Linked DNA regions of Homo sapiens: regions 1, 2, 4, 5 and 6 are each linked to region 3. Evidence: promoter capture Hi-C in 16 types of primary human blood cells and fetal thymus (Javierre and others, 2016). All regions are on one chromosome and are shown on one strand. Each heading gives the region's core, a stretch centred on a gene start or on the middle of the fragment in contact. The rest is flanking DNA. Distances are from core to core; before and after follow the strand shown. Region 1 holds the start of LOC105372898 (a long non-coding RNA gene). Region 2 has its middle 6.6 kb from the start of HHAT. Region 3 holds the start of UTP25 (UTP25 small subunit processome component). Region 4 has its middle 8.7 kb from the start of MIR205HG. Region 5 has its middle 26 kb from the start of MIR205HG. Region 6 has its middle 15 kb from the start of SERTAD4-AS1.

The links. Contacts are between HindIII fragments. The CHiCAGO score rates a contact against its expected background, and 5 or more counts as called.
Region 1: a fragment that was not itself captured here is called in contact with the fragment with the promoter of UTP25 in region 3 in 1 of 17 cell types (neutrophils); the score reaches 5.6 in neutrophils.
Region 2: a fragment that was not itself captured here is called in contact with the fragment with the promoter of UTP25 in region 3 in 10 of 17 cell types (fetal thymus, total B cells, total CD8 T cells and 7 more); the score reaches 17.2 in fetal thymus.
Region 4: a contact is called between a fragment that was not itself captured here and the fragment with the promoter of UTP25 in region 3, in 1 of 17 cell types (monocytes). The highest score is 5.8, in monocytes.
Region 5: a contact is called between a fragment that was not itself captured here and the fragment with the promoter of UTP25 in region 3, in 1 of 17 cell types (monocytes). The highest score is 5.3, in monocytes.
Region 6: a fragment that was not itself captured here is called in contact with the fragment with the promoter of UTP25 in region 3 in 2 of 17 cell types (endothelial precursors and naive B cells); the score reaches 6.9 in endothelial precursors.

The regions. Positions count from the first base shown.
Region 1 is chr1:209,541,752-209,544,451 of GRCh38, forward strand. LOC105372898 (a long non-coding RNA gene) reads right to left here and starts at 1,167. Exons shown (of 7, transcript XR_922535.3): 1 at 1,095-1,167. RefSeq lists a silencer at 759-959. The HindIII fragment of the contact is 6,088 bases long and covers 1-2,700 here.
Region 2 is chr1:210,320,980-210,323,679 of GRCh38, forward strand. No RefSeq gene overlaps it. Among named protein-coding and RNA genes, the nearest start is that of HHAT, 6.6 kb to the right of the region's middle. The HindIII fragment of the contact is 7,025 bases long and covers 1-2,700 here.
Region 3 is chr1:209,826,640-209,829,339 of GRCh38, forward strand. It overlaps UTP25 (UTP25 small subunit processome component), which reads left to right and starts at 1,333. Exons shown (of 12, transcript NM_014388.7): 1 at 1,333-1,531. The coding sequence starts at 1,425. RefSeq lists an enhancer at 1,373-1,422. The HindIII fragment of the contact is 3,327 bases long and covers 252-2,700 here.
Region 4 is chr1:209,418,725-209,421,424 of GRCh38, forward strand. No RefSeq gene overlaps it. Among named protein-coding and RNA genes, the nearest start is that of MIR205HG, 8.7 kb to the right of the region's middle. The HindIII fragment of the contact is 179 bases long and covers 1,314-1,492 here.
Region 5 is chr1:209,401,180-209,403,879 of GRCh38, forward strand. No RefSeq gene overlaps it. Among named protein-coding and RNA genes, the nearest start is that of MIR205HG, 26 kb to the right of the region's middle. RefSeq lists enhancers at 2,432-2,700, 2,530-2,700. The HindIII fragment of the contact is 5,993 bases long and covers 1-2,700 here.
Region 6 is chr1:210,247,735-210,250,434 of GRCh38, forward strand. No RefSeq gene overlaps it. Among named protein-coding and RNA genes, the nearest start is that of SERTAD4-AS1, 15 kb to the left of the region's middle. The HindIII fragment of the contact is 1,716 bases long and covers 451-2,166 here.

The DNA of each region.
Region 1 (2,700 bases), core at 5-2,504, 280 kb before region 3:
TTTACAAAACAGAATTGAAATGTAAAGAGATTAAGAAAATTAACTCATGATACTCAGCTAGTAAATTGCAGAACTGGGGTTCAAATCCAGGCCTATATTTTCTCCTAAATTTAGGAGTTTTCTATTCCAACGCTTTTGTCATAGTAGGCTTTCAGCTTCAGGAAGTCACTTGAATCTGATGCTGACATTCTTTTCTGAGCAGGAGCTGGCAGTGGTAGACATGGGACACCATCCTCCATCCCAACTCTCTCCTCCAGCCCTGATGCCACTTGCCACCCAAGTGAAAGATACAGGTTGAGCTGCCCACACTTGTTCTTGCCCCAGGCCCACTAGAGAGCAGACTACCTGACACACTGGCCCCTTGTCACCTTGGAACAAGGCCTTTCCCACTTATAGAGACCCTAGAACTCTCAGGAACCCCATATTGCTCTTCACTCTGCAGAGCTGTTCTTCAGAGGCAACGGTGCTGAAGAGAAGGATCTGGATCTGGGCCCCTAATGAAACTCCCCACTAGACTACTGCTTCAGCTTAACCAAACTGGAAATTTGAGCCAATTCTTCTTTATTCTGCTACCCATCTCAGAAAGCAACTTGCAGAGGTCAAGGACAGCAGAGAGTCTTCTTAGCTTCCAATCATTCTGCTTCTTACTATGAACATGATCCATTCAAGTGCAAGAAACCTGTAAGTTCAGGGCTAAGCTGCCATTGAAATGTCTGAGTGCTTAAGAAGCAGGAAAGAAAATGCATGATGCTTTTAAGAAACCACTATTAGCAAAACAATCTCAAATAAACCCAGAAAGTCCTGATAGAGCTGGATGACTCCTACCCAGCCTCAGGGGTCATTCATTTACCAATTTATGATTCAGAGACTATCACTGCTGGCTCAGTCTCTCTCCTATCCCAATCATTGTCCACCTACCAAACTGACCTGTTAGTGGTAGATCTGCCAACAGCCACTCATAGAGCACCAGAAACAATGCCCTCCTCTCTCCCTCCCACCACCACTTATCTTCTCCAGAAATAAAGGGTTAATGCAGGAACTCCTAAGACCCACAATACTCATGACTCACACTGTGGTTAACCAAAAGAACCTACCTTCCTCAAGTCCAAGTCATTACTTCTCTGTACCTCTCTGGACAAGCAGAGAGGCAGGTGTGAGTCAGTGGATCTAAAAGGTGAAGCATAAAGCTATTACAAATTAATAAGAAAAAGTCAAGCACATTGTAGGGGACTGAATTGTGTCCCCTAAAAATATATGTTCAAGTCCTAATGCCCTAGGGCCAATGAACACAACCTGATTTGGAAGTAGGGTCTTTGCAGATGCAGTCAATTTAAGATGAAATACTGCATTAGAGTATGCCCTAAATCCAATAATTGGTGTCCTTATAAGGAGATGAAGATTTAGAGACACACAGATAAGCATGGAGAGAAGACAGTTGTCTGAAGGCGACAGAAATTGAGTAATGCAGCTGTAAGCCAAGGAATACCAAAGAATGCCAGCAAACCCCAGAAGCTAGAAAGAGGCAAGGAAGAATTCTTTCTTAAGAGTCTTCAGAGGGAACGTAGCCCTACCAACACCTTGATTTCAGATATCTAGCGTCTAGAACTATGAAAGAATATATTTCTGTTGCTTTAAGCCACCAAGTTTGTAGTAATTTGTTATGGCAGCCCTAGGAAACTAATATATGCACCATGGGGGGTAAAATAGCAGAATGATATGTAAAAGCAAATCATGAAAGAAGAAATGTAAATGACAATAAAAAATGTAAACCATTTTCAGCCTCGGTGGAAAGAAATATGACTTAAAACAATGATATGTCCTTTTTACTTTTCAGATGGCTAAGATTAAAAAGAATTATAATGCCTGGTGTCAGCATGGGGGGTGGGAAATGGACATCTATTCACTGCTTTTGGGAATAGGCGAGAACAACAAATTCTAGAGAATAATATGGTAATATATATCAAAAGCTGTAAAATCATTATATTCTAGGAAATAATAAGGTAAGGTGCAAATATCTATGCATAATACTATTTCCATCAAAGCATTACTTATAGCAAACTTAAAAAGGGAAAGAAATTTAAAGTTCAAACAATAGGAATTGTTAAATAATTTATGTTATGTTCACACAATAAAATTACTATGAAGCCATTAAAATTGATGATATCGATTCATATTTATCGACAAGAAGAGATGTTCAAATATATTGCCAAGTGAGAAAAATAGCCTAATCTAATCTTCTGTGTGTGCCTGCATGCCTGTGTGTGTGTGTGTGTGTGTGTGTGTGTGTGTGTGTGTGTGTAGAGAGAGAGAGAACTAAGGATGGGCACTGTGTTACTGGCTGCTAACGTTATGAATTATTTGTGTTTTCAATTCTTTAATTTTTCCAAAGTGAAAATCAATACTTTAAAAAATTAGTACATGTTTCAAATGAAGGAGATGGATTGGAGAGCTTCTGCTGCTGAGCTACATCCCTACAATGTGTCCAGAACAAAGGGTACTAGGGCGGCCTGCCTACACCCCTTTGTCCAGCACAGGAAGCCAATTGTTCAGAGCAGGCCAAAGGTCCACAATGGGCCGAGGACAAACAAACATTTCCCTTGTCTTTTCTTACCTCAACTTGACTCTGCTCTGAACCCTTAAGCACACCCTCCCAGACCTCCCTGTCTCACCTCCAAATCAACCAGCTCTTCCTTCAGCTCC
Region 2 (2,700 bases), core at 193-2,692, 490 kb after region 3:
AATACTCAGTTTTGTGCTGTGTGTAAAGTTGGTGCTAGACAAATGCTAGTTCAATGGTGATTATTGAAAATCACAATAAACCAGGGTGGACATTCTTATAGGTGGAGCAGACAAAAGCCTATGCCAGGTGGTCAGGGTTGGGTAGATCCTTGAATCCTTCAAAATAGCTCGTGATTGCTCCTTGAGTGTGAATCTTCGTAATCAGAAATTCACTCCTTTGTCTTAAAGCCTTTATCAATGAAGTCTTAGCAACCATTTATGCCTCTGTTGAATGAGTATAATTGTATGGCTGAGTCACGGCTGAACTTAAAAGGAGGATTGGCCTGGTTAATCCTTCCTAAGCACCAGTTTTGCTGTCTGGAGAGTTGCTACCAGGCACTCAGGTCTGCCTGTCTGGATGGGAGGCCCCAGTGGAATACTTAGATTCCACTAACTGAGAGAGTCAGAGAGAAAACACACCCAGTGCAGGTGCCTGATTAATGACTTATGATTAAAATAATAGTATAGAGAGGAACTGACCATTAATTACTCACATTTACATACTAATTTTGGTATTTTTGCTTTCAAGGAAATACAATACCAAGGCACAAATTGGTTCCCTCCTTTAAACCTCAATTATCATAATTTTGCTCTATTTACTCTATTTCTAGTTTGCTTCTCAACTCCAGGGAGGACTCTCCTTGGCTTTGCTTGTAGTCAGAACTGAAGCGTTTCAAGCCAAGGCATGTCCGGTCACGTCTTGCCTCAGGGCTGGCTGCTCCGGCTCCAAGTCGGGAAGATCCAGAGGCCTTACTTCTCCAAGACAAGCAGAGATCCTCAACGTTCAGACACTTCTGCCGGTGTGTGAAGCATTAAAGGTGGGGGAGAATCTCCCTCTTCTCCCTCTCCTCCCATCTACACTCTCCCCAACCCAACTTTTCTCCTGGTGTTTAGACTTTGACGTTGGTTTACTCCATTGATCTTATTTCTCATTTCCAAAAAGAACTTAGTTTCCTACCATCCATTCCTTTTACTCCAATATCTGGCATTTGAAAGATGTTAATGCTTTTTAACAAGTGGTATTGGGAAAGTTGGATCACCATATGCAAAAGATTGAAGCTGGACCCTTACCTAACACCAAATACAAAAATTAACTTGAAATAGATGAAACCCCTAATCATAAGAATTAAAATTATAAAATTTTCAGAGGAAAATATAGGAAAAAACTTCATGACATTGGTTTCTTGGATATGACATTAAAAATACCAGCAACTGGCCAGGCATGATGGCTCATGCCTGTAATCTCAGCACTTTGAGAGGCCAAGGTGGGAGGATCACTTGAGCTCAGTAGTTCGAGACCAGCCTGGGCACCATAGTGAGGCCTTCTCTCTACTAAAGATAAAAACGGCCGGGCATGGTGGCTCATGCCTGTAATCCCAGCACTTTGGGAGCCCGAGGCGGGTGGATCACGAGGTCAGGAGTTCGAGACCAGCCTAACCAACATGGTGAAACCCCGTCTCTACTAAAAATACAAAAATTAGCCAGGCGTGGTGGTGTGTGCCTGTAATCTCAGCTACTTGAGAGGCTGAGGCAGGAGCATTGCTTGAACCCAGGAGGCGGAGGTTGTGGTGAGCTGAGATCGTGCCATTGCACTCCAGCCTGGGCTTAATAAGAGCGAAACTCTGTCTCAAAAAAAAAGAGATAAAAACAATTAGCTGGGCATGGTGGCACATTCTGATAGTCCCAGCTACTTGGGAGGCTAAGGCACAAGGATCACTTGAGCCCTGGAGACGGAGGCTGCAGTGAGCTATGAATGTGCCATTGCATTACAGCCTTGGTGACAGAGTGAGGCCCTGTTTCAAAAAACAAAATAAAAACATAAACAAAAAACCAGCAACAAAAGAAAAAATAGTTAAATTAGACTTCACCAAAACTAAAATGTCTGTGCATCAAGGGACACAATCAGCAGAGTGAAAAGACAAGCCACAGGATGAGAGAACGTATTTGCAAATCATATATTTGATGAGGGATTAATATCCAGAATGTACAAAGAACTCCTACAACTTAACAAGAAAACAAACAATACAATTTTAAAAATGGGCATAGGACTTGATTAGACAGTTCTCCAGAGAAGGTATGTAAATGACCAATAAGCATATGAAAAGATGATCAACATCACTAATCATTAGGGAAATGTAAATTAAAACTACAAGGAGATACTACCTCATACTGATTAGAATGGCTAGTATAAAAACACATCAAAAAATAACAAGTGTTGGTGAGGATATGGAGAAATTGCGCTGTTGATGGGAATGTAAAATGGCACAGCCTCTATGGAAAATAGTATGGCAATTCTTCGTAAAATTAAAAACAGAATTACCATATGATTCAGCAATTTCACTTCTGGGTATATACTCAAAAGAATCGAATGCAGGGTCTTAAAGAGATGTTTGTATATCCGTGTTCATGGCAGCATTATTCACAACAGCCAAAAGAAGAAAGCAACTCAAGAATCCATAGATAGATAAATGGAAAAAATGTGTGACATACATACAATGGAATATTATCAGTTTTAAAAAGGAAGGAAATTCTGACGTGTTGGCTTAAAAAATCACACATTTTTTATACATTTAGAAAGGAGACTTTATTTCTTATAAAGGGTTACATCCTGCAGGGTGGCCATCTGACAGGCTGAGAAGTGTAGCCTCTGGTTTTTTAAAG
Region 3 (2,700 bases), core at 83-2,582:
ATGGTAGCATAAGTTACTATTAGGAAAAGGATCTCACCATCTTTATCCTGTGGTCTCAAGCAGCCCTGCACACTTGCAAATCCCTAGAATACTGAGTCTACTTTTATATTTTTGCTTTTTCCTGTTTATTTAGGTGTTATTTAAATACATTAAAATTCACCCATTTTAACTGTACAGTTTAACTTTTCTTATGTATACAAGGTGTAACTACTAGCATGATCAAAATGTAAGATGGTTCCTTTACCTTCAAAAGCTTTTCCATCCCCTTTTGTCCGAGTTCAGTTATGAGACACTGGATTGGGTTTCACAGCCTTTTCTAGCATTGACTGGGGTGATTTCAGTAAAGTCACTTTACCTCTCTAGATGTGTTTCTGCTGTTGTTAAATGGGGAATGCTGGAACAGATTTGTTTGCGGGGACTCTTCCAATACTTTCAGAAAATGCGAGAATAGGGTGAGGGTGGGAATCTCAGACTTGTGGGCCCCATGATTGATATAACACACACAGGCGGCAGACCCTAATGGGTAAAAGCATGTGGTTGCATCAGTTAAGGTTTTTCTCTCTTCTCTTGCTAGCGTGTTATCTTTTCTTTTCTTTTCTTCTTTTTTTTTTTTTTCGAGATGGAGTCTAGCTTTTGTCGCCCAGGCTGGAGTAGGCTGGAGTGCAGTGGAGTGATCTCGGCTCATTGCAACCTCCACCTCCCGGGTTCCAGCGATTCTCCTGCCTCACCTCCTGAGTAGCTGGGATTACAGGCGCCCGCTACCACGCCCGGCTGATTTTTGTACTTTTAGTAGAGACGGGGTTTCACCATGTTTGGCCATGCTGGTCTCGAACTCCTGACCTCAGGTGATCCGCCCATCTCGGCCTCCCAAAGTGTTGAGATTACAGGCGTGAGCCACCGCGCCCGGCCGCTAGCGTGTTATCTTTTCTAAGCATCAGTTTCCTTATCTGCAACACCAGGCTTATTAACAAGACCTATCTGTACACTGTTGTGGTGATGAAGTGAGATGTTCAGGCACCCTTAAATGTTGGTTGATATTTTTATTGCAGTATACTGTAAAGTCACTGCATTCGACTATCTCCGCTACTACACATTTACGCAGACTGATTTCCATAACCAAAACACAAGCACAAAGCTCATGCCCCCGACTCACGCAACCCGGGAAGCCCAGCTGCCCACGTTCTAGGGCTCTGAGAACACTAGTGAACGAACTCCCGTGCTTTCAAAGAGCTGCGGTAGGGGGCAGAACCGGGAACCGGATGTTCTAAGCCTGTCGTACGAGCGCGACGTAAAGCGGATCTGCTTTATGGCACCTTGCTTTCGCCGTAAAGCGCAGTCAGCGAGCCCACGTGCTTGTGTTGACTGGACAACTTCCTGGTGGAAAACCGCGACTCTTGCAAGTGGGCAAACTTGACGTTTTCGCTATGGGCAAACGCGGGAGCCGGAGCCAGAGCCAGCTACTCAACACCCTAACTAAAAAGCAGAAGAAACATCTTCGAGATTTCGGCGAGGAGCATCCCTTCTATGACAGGTCTGAAGGGGCGTGGCAGGGCTCCCCAGTCGCCAGAGATGTATCCTCGAGTTTGGTCCTCTGGTCTCCCAGATAGTGCTGCTCCGGCCTTTTCCCACTATTCCCTGGCTCCCGCTGTGCTCGGCCGGGGAGATTCTGGCGCCATCCCGCCGGGAGATGGAGTGCTTCACGGGCCTTTTTGTTGAGCCTGTAATTTCCTGCTAAGAGGCACGCCCGTTGTGTGGGGGAGGATTTTTTTTTTTTTTTTAAGACGGTGTTTCGCTCTGTCGCCCAGGCTGGAGTGCAATGGCGCGATCTTGGCTCACTGCAACCTCTGTCTCCTCCCGGGTTCAAGCGATGCTCCTGCCTCAGCCTCCCGTGTAGCTGGGATTACAGGCGCCCGCCACCAAGCCCGGCTGATTTTTTGTATTTTTAGTAGAGATGGGGTTTCACCATGTTGGCCAGGCTGGTCTTGAACTCCTGACCTCAGGTGATCCACCCACCTCGGCCTCCCAAAGTGCTGGGATTACAGGCGTGAGCCACCGCGCCCAGCTATGGGGGCGGATTTTTGTGTGGTCAGAGATCTAGGAATTTTTTGTAGACACACATATATATATGTATATATATAATTTTTTTTTTTTAAGACAGAGTCTCGCTTTGTCGCCCAGGCTGGAGTGCAGTGGCGCGATCTCAGCTCACTGCAACCTCCGTCTCCCGGGCTTAAGCGATTCTCCTGCCTCAGCTTCCCGTGTAGCTGGGATTACAGGCGCCCGCCATCACACCCGATCAATTTTTTGTATTTTTAGTTGAGACGGGGTTTCACCATGTTAGCTAGGGTGGTCTCGAACTACTGACCTCGGGTGATCTGCCCGCCTTGGCCTCCCAAAGTGCTGGAATTACAGGCGTGAACCACCGCGCTTGGCCTGTTTTTATAATTATTTTTAACTTACATAAAATGATTGTACATATTTGTGGGATACAGTGTGATATTTTGATAACAATACATGTACCCAATGTGTAATGATCAAATCCGGGTAATTAGCATATTCATCATCTCAAACATCAATTCTTTGCGTTGGGAACATTGAAAATCCGCTCTTCTAGCCATTTGAAAATATACAATAAATTGTTAGTTATAGTCACATCATATGTTGTGTGTGTTTTTAAAGAATTTGTTGGGACATCATTGA
Region 4 (2,700 bases), core at 153-2,652, 410 kb before region 3:
GGTATCATGTAAGCCCCAGATGTGGAGACAGTGATCTAAAACGTTAAGTTGCTCATCCAAAGTCACACAGCTGGTGGACAATGGAGCCAGGGTTTAAATATGTTTCTTCAACACAAAAGGACTAACTTTTTGTGCTACATCACCCTGCCTTCAATAAAAAATGAGTTCATATTGCTGAGAGGTGGAGCGGGGGCGGGGTGGGGATTGAGAGAGAGAGAGAGAGAGAGACAAAGATACAAATTCAAATGCCAGCAGAGTCAAGAAGTTTCAGTAAACGAGTGATGAGCACTGGAAAGTAAATTGTGAATTAGTTGCCCCCTCTAAAGTATCACAGAGATTCAAGTCCAGCAAGTGTAGTAATGAAGGAATTCAGGCCCTGGATGGCCAGATTTTTTTTTCCTTTTTCGTTTTTGAAGGGAGGCTGAAATCCAGATTTTTATGTGAAATCTCCCAGTTCTTATCTGTGGCACCTAAGTCACAAAAACTCTAAACATCATGCAGGCCAAATAGTATAAGCCCATGCCCAGATTCAAGCACACAGTTTGCAAACTCTGGACACTCAGAATAATCTCCTAACCATAGGAATGGGAGAGACCGAGACATTTCACTTTGGGACTCTGTACCACCTTCTCTCTGGATTTCCTTTTTAGAGAAAATGAACTTTCTGGAATATTCAGAGCTAGGGCACTGTGATTAAACCAACCCCACTAAATTGCTAGAGCTCACACCAGCAATTCTCTTCTCTCTTATGGAGTGAGGTGGAGGGGGGCAAACATACACTCCACTAAAGCCAGCAGAAGTTCTCTTTTTTTCTAATAAGCAACAAATTATTTGAGGGGACTTGGTTGAAAACTAGTTCTACCCCTATAGTTAAATCCAATTATACCATAATTACAGGGAGTCTGCACACATCAGAGCTTAGTTGGGAAAGAATAGGAACACCACAGTTCTTCAAAACGCTGGCCAGAGGTACCCCTGTAATTTCACCAACTGTTGTCCTGGCGGAACCTTCATGGGAAAGAAGACACATGTGGCTCTTGATTTTCAATCAGAGGACAACCCACTGAAAGCTCCTTCACTGCTGAGTGGCGTTGGCTCACTTATGGATTTAAAGAAGACAGGCATAGGGAGATGTCTCTTATTTTGTTTAAACCCGGCCAGAAAATGAGTGGGCTCGTATTTCCAAGTCCAAATAGGATTAAGCACTAGGTCTGTTGAGAAATAGGAAATTATCATTTCTACATTCTTACTATTTCCTACTTTTAATATTTTTTTCTTGAGTGTGAGTGGGAAGGGGGCGTCCAGATTTTTTAAGCTTTAAATCAGAAATTACAAGAAAAGCTATTACAAATATCTCTCATTCATTGTGAAAGAGCCTACTTACTTATCCATTTTTCCATTCTCACATGGACCTATGGCCCTCAAATTTGAGGGAGATTGTAAATTGTTTCTGTTGGTTATAATAGGAATAAGAAGCAGAAGAGCCTACTAAAGCTTAAAAGGTTTGATGTGTGCAATGTTATAACTGAAATTTTTGTTAAATAATATTCTTTTGCTGAAAGTCCAAGGGCATGTCTATTCTTCTGCTGAAACCTTTTCAATTGCCTTTGCAAAAACTCAAGGTTTCACTCAGAAGAGAACACCTAGCATCGTGCCTACTGAGGTTAAATATTCTCAGGCTTTCACTGAGAACAGTGTTGATTTTGCAGAAGTAATATCATGCTCTAATTCCTCTCTAATCCCCATTTCATTTTTGTTACAAAATACATGACTGAAAAGAAGGGAAGTTTTAGTTAATTCACTAAGCGGTATTAAATCCATGCCGTGGTGCAGCCTGTTTTGCTAGGTTCTGTACGAAAGAGAGAAATGGCTGAGTCTGAAAATGGAATGGGGAGGGGAGGGGTAAAATCCCTAGCCTGGGGAATCCAAAAAACCTCTTTTTTCAAATGGAGACTCGAATACTTACTGGTTATGTTACCTCATACAAGTTATTCAACCTCTGTTTGCTCATTTGAAAAAGTCTGTGCCGTGAGGATTACAGGAGCAAAATATGAGAAAAATGCTGGCCTAATAATAGTAGGAGAAGCACTGAGATGGTTAGTGGACTCCAGCCCACCTCTGAAGGCAGGCACAGCCTAGCCAGGGAAACAGCGGCACCCATCTTTCTGCCACACAGAGCAGCACCAGGGCCGGGAGGCCTGCATGGAGCCATGTGAGCAGAGACCAGGAAGGGGGGCCAGGGGCTTACTATTAGGTAGCATTTCAGAAGAATGTTCTGGATGGAGGCAGGAGTATGACAAAACATAGATTGACAAAACACTAGACGGCATCTCTGAGGAACAGAAGGCAGCCCTGTGAGACTGGAGTTGTGGTTGTGGGACCAGAATCAGAGACCCGCCGGTGCCTCAGCAGCCCCTGCCCCAGGATGCTGTATTATTGAGGAGCAAAGTGGCTGACAGCTGGCCCTGGGGAAGCCTGGACATTTCACACAACAGGGAGAACCAATGGAGGGGGAAAGTTGGGTCAGGTGTGCTGGTGAATGCCTAACAACTGGCTCTCAGGAACACTCTGGTTTTGTAGCGTAGTATAAGCTTTCTCACCACGGCTGATTTCAAGCTACCAACATGTTCAACAACCAGATGGCAAGCTGTTTCCTGGAATTTTAACAACTGACTCTCACAAGCAGGTATTAGTTAGCTG
Region 5 (2,700 bases), core at 6-2,505, 430 kb before region 3:
CAGGAACGCAGGACAAAGGCCAGACAAATGCTTCATTATACAAAAGGAGGGAAGGCTTCAGCATCTTAGATACTAACAACCTAGACCCAAGGCTTGTCCCCCTGTTGTCACTTTCAGCAAATTAAACTCTCCCTTGCTGACTCCTCAGTCTCTTCATCATCTGGTACCACTATGCCTGGCCAATCTCATTTCTGCTGTTCCCCATCATAAAATCTGCATCCTACCCCTCCTGGTCTATCTCAATCTCCCCACACAAGTTACAGAATACTGAGATAACCTCAGGCGTGCACATGAATAAGACCTGAGCATGGACAAATAAGACCAGTAGGACCGAACCAACATTAGTATTTAAAAGTGAGCAAAGAAAGAGAAGCCCATGAAGGAGTCTGAAGAGGTGGGGAAATCCAGCTGCTGCACGTGGTGATGGAAGCCCAGGAAAAGAGTTTTTCAGTATGCAGGAAAGGACCAACAGTGTCAGCCGCTGCAGAGAGGTCAAGGAAGATAATGACTTAAAAGTTGCCATTGGATTCAGCAATAAAGTAGTCATCTACAACCTTGCTGAGAGCAGTTTCAGCAGAACAATAAGGGCAGAAGCCAGCTTGCAGTGGGTAGAATACAGAATGGGAAGTAAAGAAGCTGAGCGACAGATACAGATGCCTTTTTAAAGAGAAAGCGGTGGCTGAAAAGTGCCATGGGGCCAGCAAGGAATTGAATATACAAGACGGAAGGCTTAAACATGTTTAGGTCCTGATAGAGAGAGGGGAAAAGAGAGAGGGACAGGGTGAAGGGACAGGGAAGAGAAAGGGAAAAGTGATCAAGCCAGGCTGCTAAGGAGGTAGGAGAGAAAAACTCCAGAGGACAAAAAAAGGGATAAGCTCAGACAGAGAGAGGCTCCTCTTCCATAAAATCAGAAGTGAAGAAAAGAGGCATGGTGGCAGATGTAGGTAAGTTGTAGGTTTGATGGCACTGAGTTAAGGGGTGGGATGTTTCCATCTCTGGGTTCTACACTTTCTGTGAAGTAGGAAGCAATGTCAAATGCTTAACTTGTGAAGGCCAAATATTTGAGGAGTGGAGGAGAGTGAAGAAGGCACTGAAAATCTAGTCTAGAGAACTAGAGAGAGCGGTGACTAAGGAAGCCTAGAATGATCACAGGAGAGTGGCAGGGAGCAGTGGGGTCTGGGAAATGGGAGACAGTAGTACAATGAGTCTACAGATCGTGTGGGTTTCTCTATGACATGCAGCAACACTGGCAGAGAAGGCTAATAGTTTGTTAGCTCCAGGGTTGAGGTTTTGCCATCCAAGTATGAAAGAAAGCCAATAGGGCAACAATATTAGCAAGACAGAGGTTGAAGTAAAATGAAGCTGAGAGGGTATGGTATGAGAAGGTATGACTGAAAAGAGAGAGAGAGAGAGAGAGAGAGAGAGAGATCAGTGGTCTGGGAGTCCCTAGTTTTGAAATAGAAATAATGTCAATGATTGAGTACAAGAAGTAGAAAGATAGAAGGTTGTGGTGTGGGAGGTGACCTAGGGGATGATGAGGTCCAGGTGGGGTGGACGTGTTGAGAAGAGAAGATGCAGGAATGGGGGGGTCGAGTGTTGCTGGGCATCTTCATGAGCCCAGAAGAAGCCCAGGATGAAAGCAGGGTTCAGATGGAAGAAAAGACTGTGTAACACATGCTGGTGTCATTAGTGAATGGGGAGAATGACTAAGAGAGTGTTAGATGAGGAAGAGGAAATGCAGAGTGGAAATCACTAATCAGAGGCCTGTGGGCCAACTCAGACCCAATAGCCAGGTTTCATTTGGCTGTCATGGTGTTTTTTCTTATTTTTTTTTTTGATGATGGTTTACTATCTACCATTTTTAAAAAAAATCAGGAAAGTTCATATAAAAATCTAGATTCCTTGAAAGCCTTCTCTTAGAAACTATAAAGATCTGGGAAAAGGCCGGGCACAGTGGCTCAGGCCTGTAATCCCAGCACTTTGGGAGGCCAAGGCGGGAGGATCACCTAAGGTTGGGAGTTCGAGACCAGCCTGACCAACATGGAGAAACTCTGTCTCTACTAAAAATGCAAAAAATTAGGCAGGTATGGTGGCGCATGCCTGTAATCCCAGCTACTCGGGAGGCTGAGGCAGGAGAATCGCTTGAACCTGGGAGGTGGAGGTTGCAGTGAGCCGAGATCACGCCATTGCATTCCAGCCTGGGCGACAGAGTGAGAATCCGTCTCAAAAAAAAAAAAAAAAAAAAAAAAGATCTGGGAACACAGGGTTTATCTCCTTCAACTGTGAACTGCGGAGCAACTGTGCCCTTTTTGAGCATCATGGGGTCTCCAGCTCACCACTGAACCCCCTAGGGCTTGTGTCACTCATTTAAGAGGCAGACCTGCCCTTGTCACAGTACACTGGAGACACTTTGGAGAGCACTGGCAATGCCAGTGAGCTTGAGCCTAAAAGCGGCCAAGACTTTCACTTGAATCATTTGGGGAGTGAAGATGGGGAGCAGGGATGGTGCCAACGCCAGCGGCTGATGCTGAGATGCAGCAGAATTAGCAGTCTCCCCTTGAGAAGGCTACAGAGAACACAGAACACTCGAGGGAGAGGCAGGTGCAGATGAAAAGGCAGAGGGAGTGAAGTGGTCAAGGAAGAGTCTGAGGCTACGAATGAGTTTATTCACCATGGACATTCCAGAGGACAGACATAAAA
Region 6 (2,700 bases), core at 59-2,558, 420 kb after region 3:
TTTGTGAACAGTTATGGTCATTAGCCCAAGGAATCTCTCTCCTGTTCAGTTTAGGCACAGAGGTTGTGGGTTTCTCACAAGACTGGAGTATAGAAGAGGGTTAAGAGTAGGGGGTTTGGAGTTAGACTGCCTGGATGAAAATCTCAGCTCTGCCAGGGTAGCTGTGCAAGCTTGGCCTTGGCCAACAAGCCACTTTACCTCCTAGTGCCTCAGTTTACTCATCTGTAAAATGGAGCAGCACACATTATCCACCTCATCAGGTTGTCAGGATTAAAGGTTTTAATATCAGGGAAGTGACTCAACATTGCCTGGGTGTACATTATGGGTTTGCAGTGAACAAGCCTCCATGACTTCTCCATTACTGTCCTTGAATGCCCGGCAAGTGGAACCCAACCGTGCCAGATCCTCCTTTTGGTGGAAAGTATTCAGCCTCTTTGGTTCTGTACAGCAAGCTTGAAGTTAAACAGGGGGATGGTATGAAACCTGGGGTCCCAGGGCCCTTAGCTATGAAAGTCGTCATTGGTGACCTTGAGATATGTTTAGTATTTAAAATACCAAATCATAAAATCTTCTGAAAGTGGTTGCACAGGCTAACCCCACATCAGATTTCCTTACCTTTGGCTGGAATTAAATCAGCTCCAGGCTGTCACAAACTGAGAAGAAACTCTGACTGGGAAAACGAAGGCATTATCCTTAATAAATACAATTTGTTTGTCAGACAGAATCTTTCAGAACATTGGCTATGTGAAGGGAATAAGAGGTGTCCCTTACAAATGGAAAGATTAAAAACCACTAACCTCTGACTCATCTCTAGGATTTGCCAAAGTTCAAGTTTATTTAGTTGTTGTATCAAATAATTTTCTTAAACCTAGCTTTTACTCAGAAAAAGTACAGTATTAAGTTAGGAAAAAAAGGGGGGGCAGGCGCGGCAGCTCATGCCTGCTGGTAATCCCAGCACTTTGGGAGGCCAAGGCGGATGGATCACTTGAGGTTAAGAGTTCAAGACCAGCCTGGTCAACATGGTGAAACCCCGTGTCTACTAAAAATACAAAAGTTAGCCGGGCCTGTGTGGTGGGGGGCGCCTTTAATCCCAGCTACTCGGGAGGCCAAGGTAGGAGAATTGCTTGAACCTCAGAGGCAGAGGTTGCAGTGAGCCTAGATGGATCCACTGCATACAGCCTGGATGAGGAAGTGAGACTCTGTCTCCAAAAAAAAAAAAAAAAAAAAAAAGGCAGGAGGGGGGCAGGGGAGATAATTTAGACTAAACGCTATTCCTTGTGCTCCTCTACCTGATAATTTTGGAGGCCAAAGCAGAATTGTCTGGATAACCACAACCAAGGACACAGCCTATTATAAAATAACTGGGATACAGTTTCCATGTATAAGGTCAACTAGAGGTTGGTTATCCCTATTTCAAATTCTTATCCCTTCTGTTTTGCCAGTAAACTCAGAAACCCACTGATAATTTCAAAATAGAATTCCATTTACAAAATTACATTCTGTCTCTCTATTTTTGAAGAGTATATATTTTTCCCTAAGGTGAGGTTCATTTGTAGCAGGCTTGCTGATGGGTAGGTCCTGAAATGAGAACAAAACTGAACCATATGGCTTGAGAATGAGAAATGGGCAACAGAGTATAATGAGAGCAAATGCAGTGTTGTACCATGGGGGTCCCAGGACTTCTCTGCAAGAGGCTCCCCTCCTATCTGACTGGGCTAGGATCTCATGATTGGCAACATTAGTTGCCATTTGAGCCAGCTGAGAGAGGCAGTGGGAAGCCAGGACACCTCAGCCTGCCCAGGGAGGTCTAGGCTGGCCATCTCTAAACCTTTGTCCTCTCAGAGTTTGGAAAACCAGCAGCTGGAGTAGATATTTTTATTTCCCAATCAGTAGAATTTTAACCAGTTAAGATGATCAATTAGAATTCTCAACCAGCCCAATCTTGACCTAGCTGGTTTTAGGCAAGATGACTTAATGCACAAGGGACATCTCTATCTAGAGATGGTATTGGTCCCTGCACAGAAAGAACTCTTAAAGAAATTCTGGGGCCATTTATCTGGGTGTTTTAAGTGATGAATAAAGAAATACATACTAGGAAGAATCCTGGGATGGAATTTGTACGAATTAATTGATTTCTAACACTTGTTCTTATTATAGATCCAACAAAGCTTACCTCAATCTTTTAAAAATGTCCTGTTTAGGCCAGGCACGATGGTGCACACCTTAATCCCAGCACTTTGGGAGGCCGAGGCAGGAGGATCGCTTGAAACCGGGAGGTGGGGGTTGCAGTGAGCCTGCAGTCCCCACCACTCTGGAGGCTGAGGCATGAGAATCGCTTGAACCCCAGAAGCAGAGGTTGCAGTGAGCTGAGATTGCGCCACTGCACTATAGCCTGGGTGACAGAGCAAAGAGCAAGAATCTGTCCAAAAAATAAATAAATAAATAAAAGAAGAAGAAAGCAAAAAGAAAGAAAGAAGAAGAAAAAGAACAAATCATAACTCTTCATTTATTTGCTTAGAGTCAATCTATTGTATTGATTTCTGGTCAAATGACTGCTGTTTCTTAACCACAAGATTATAACCAACTTAGTGGTGAGAACTAGATTAGGAGTTAGGAAACAGAGTCTTGCCCAGGTTTGCCACTCACTAGCTGTCTAACCATGAACAAGCTCCTTCACTTCTCTGGATCTTGATTTTCCAT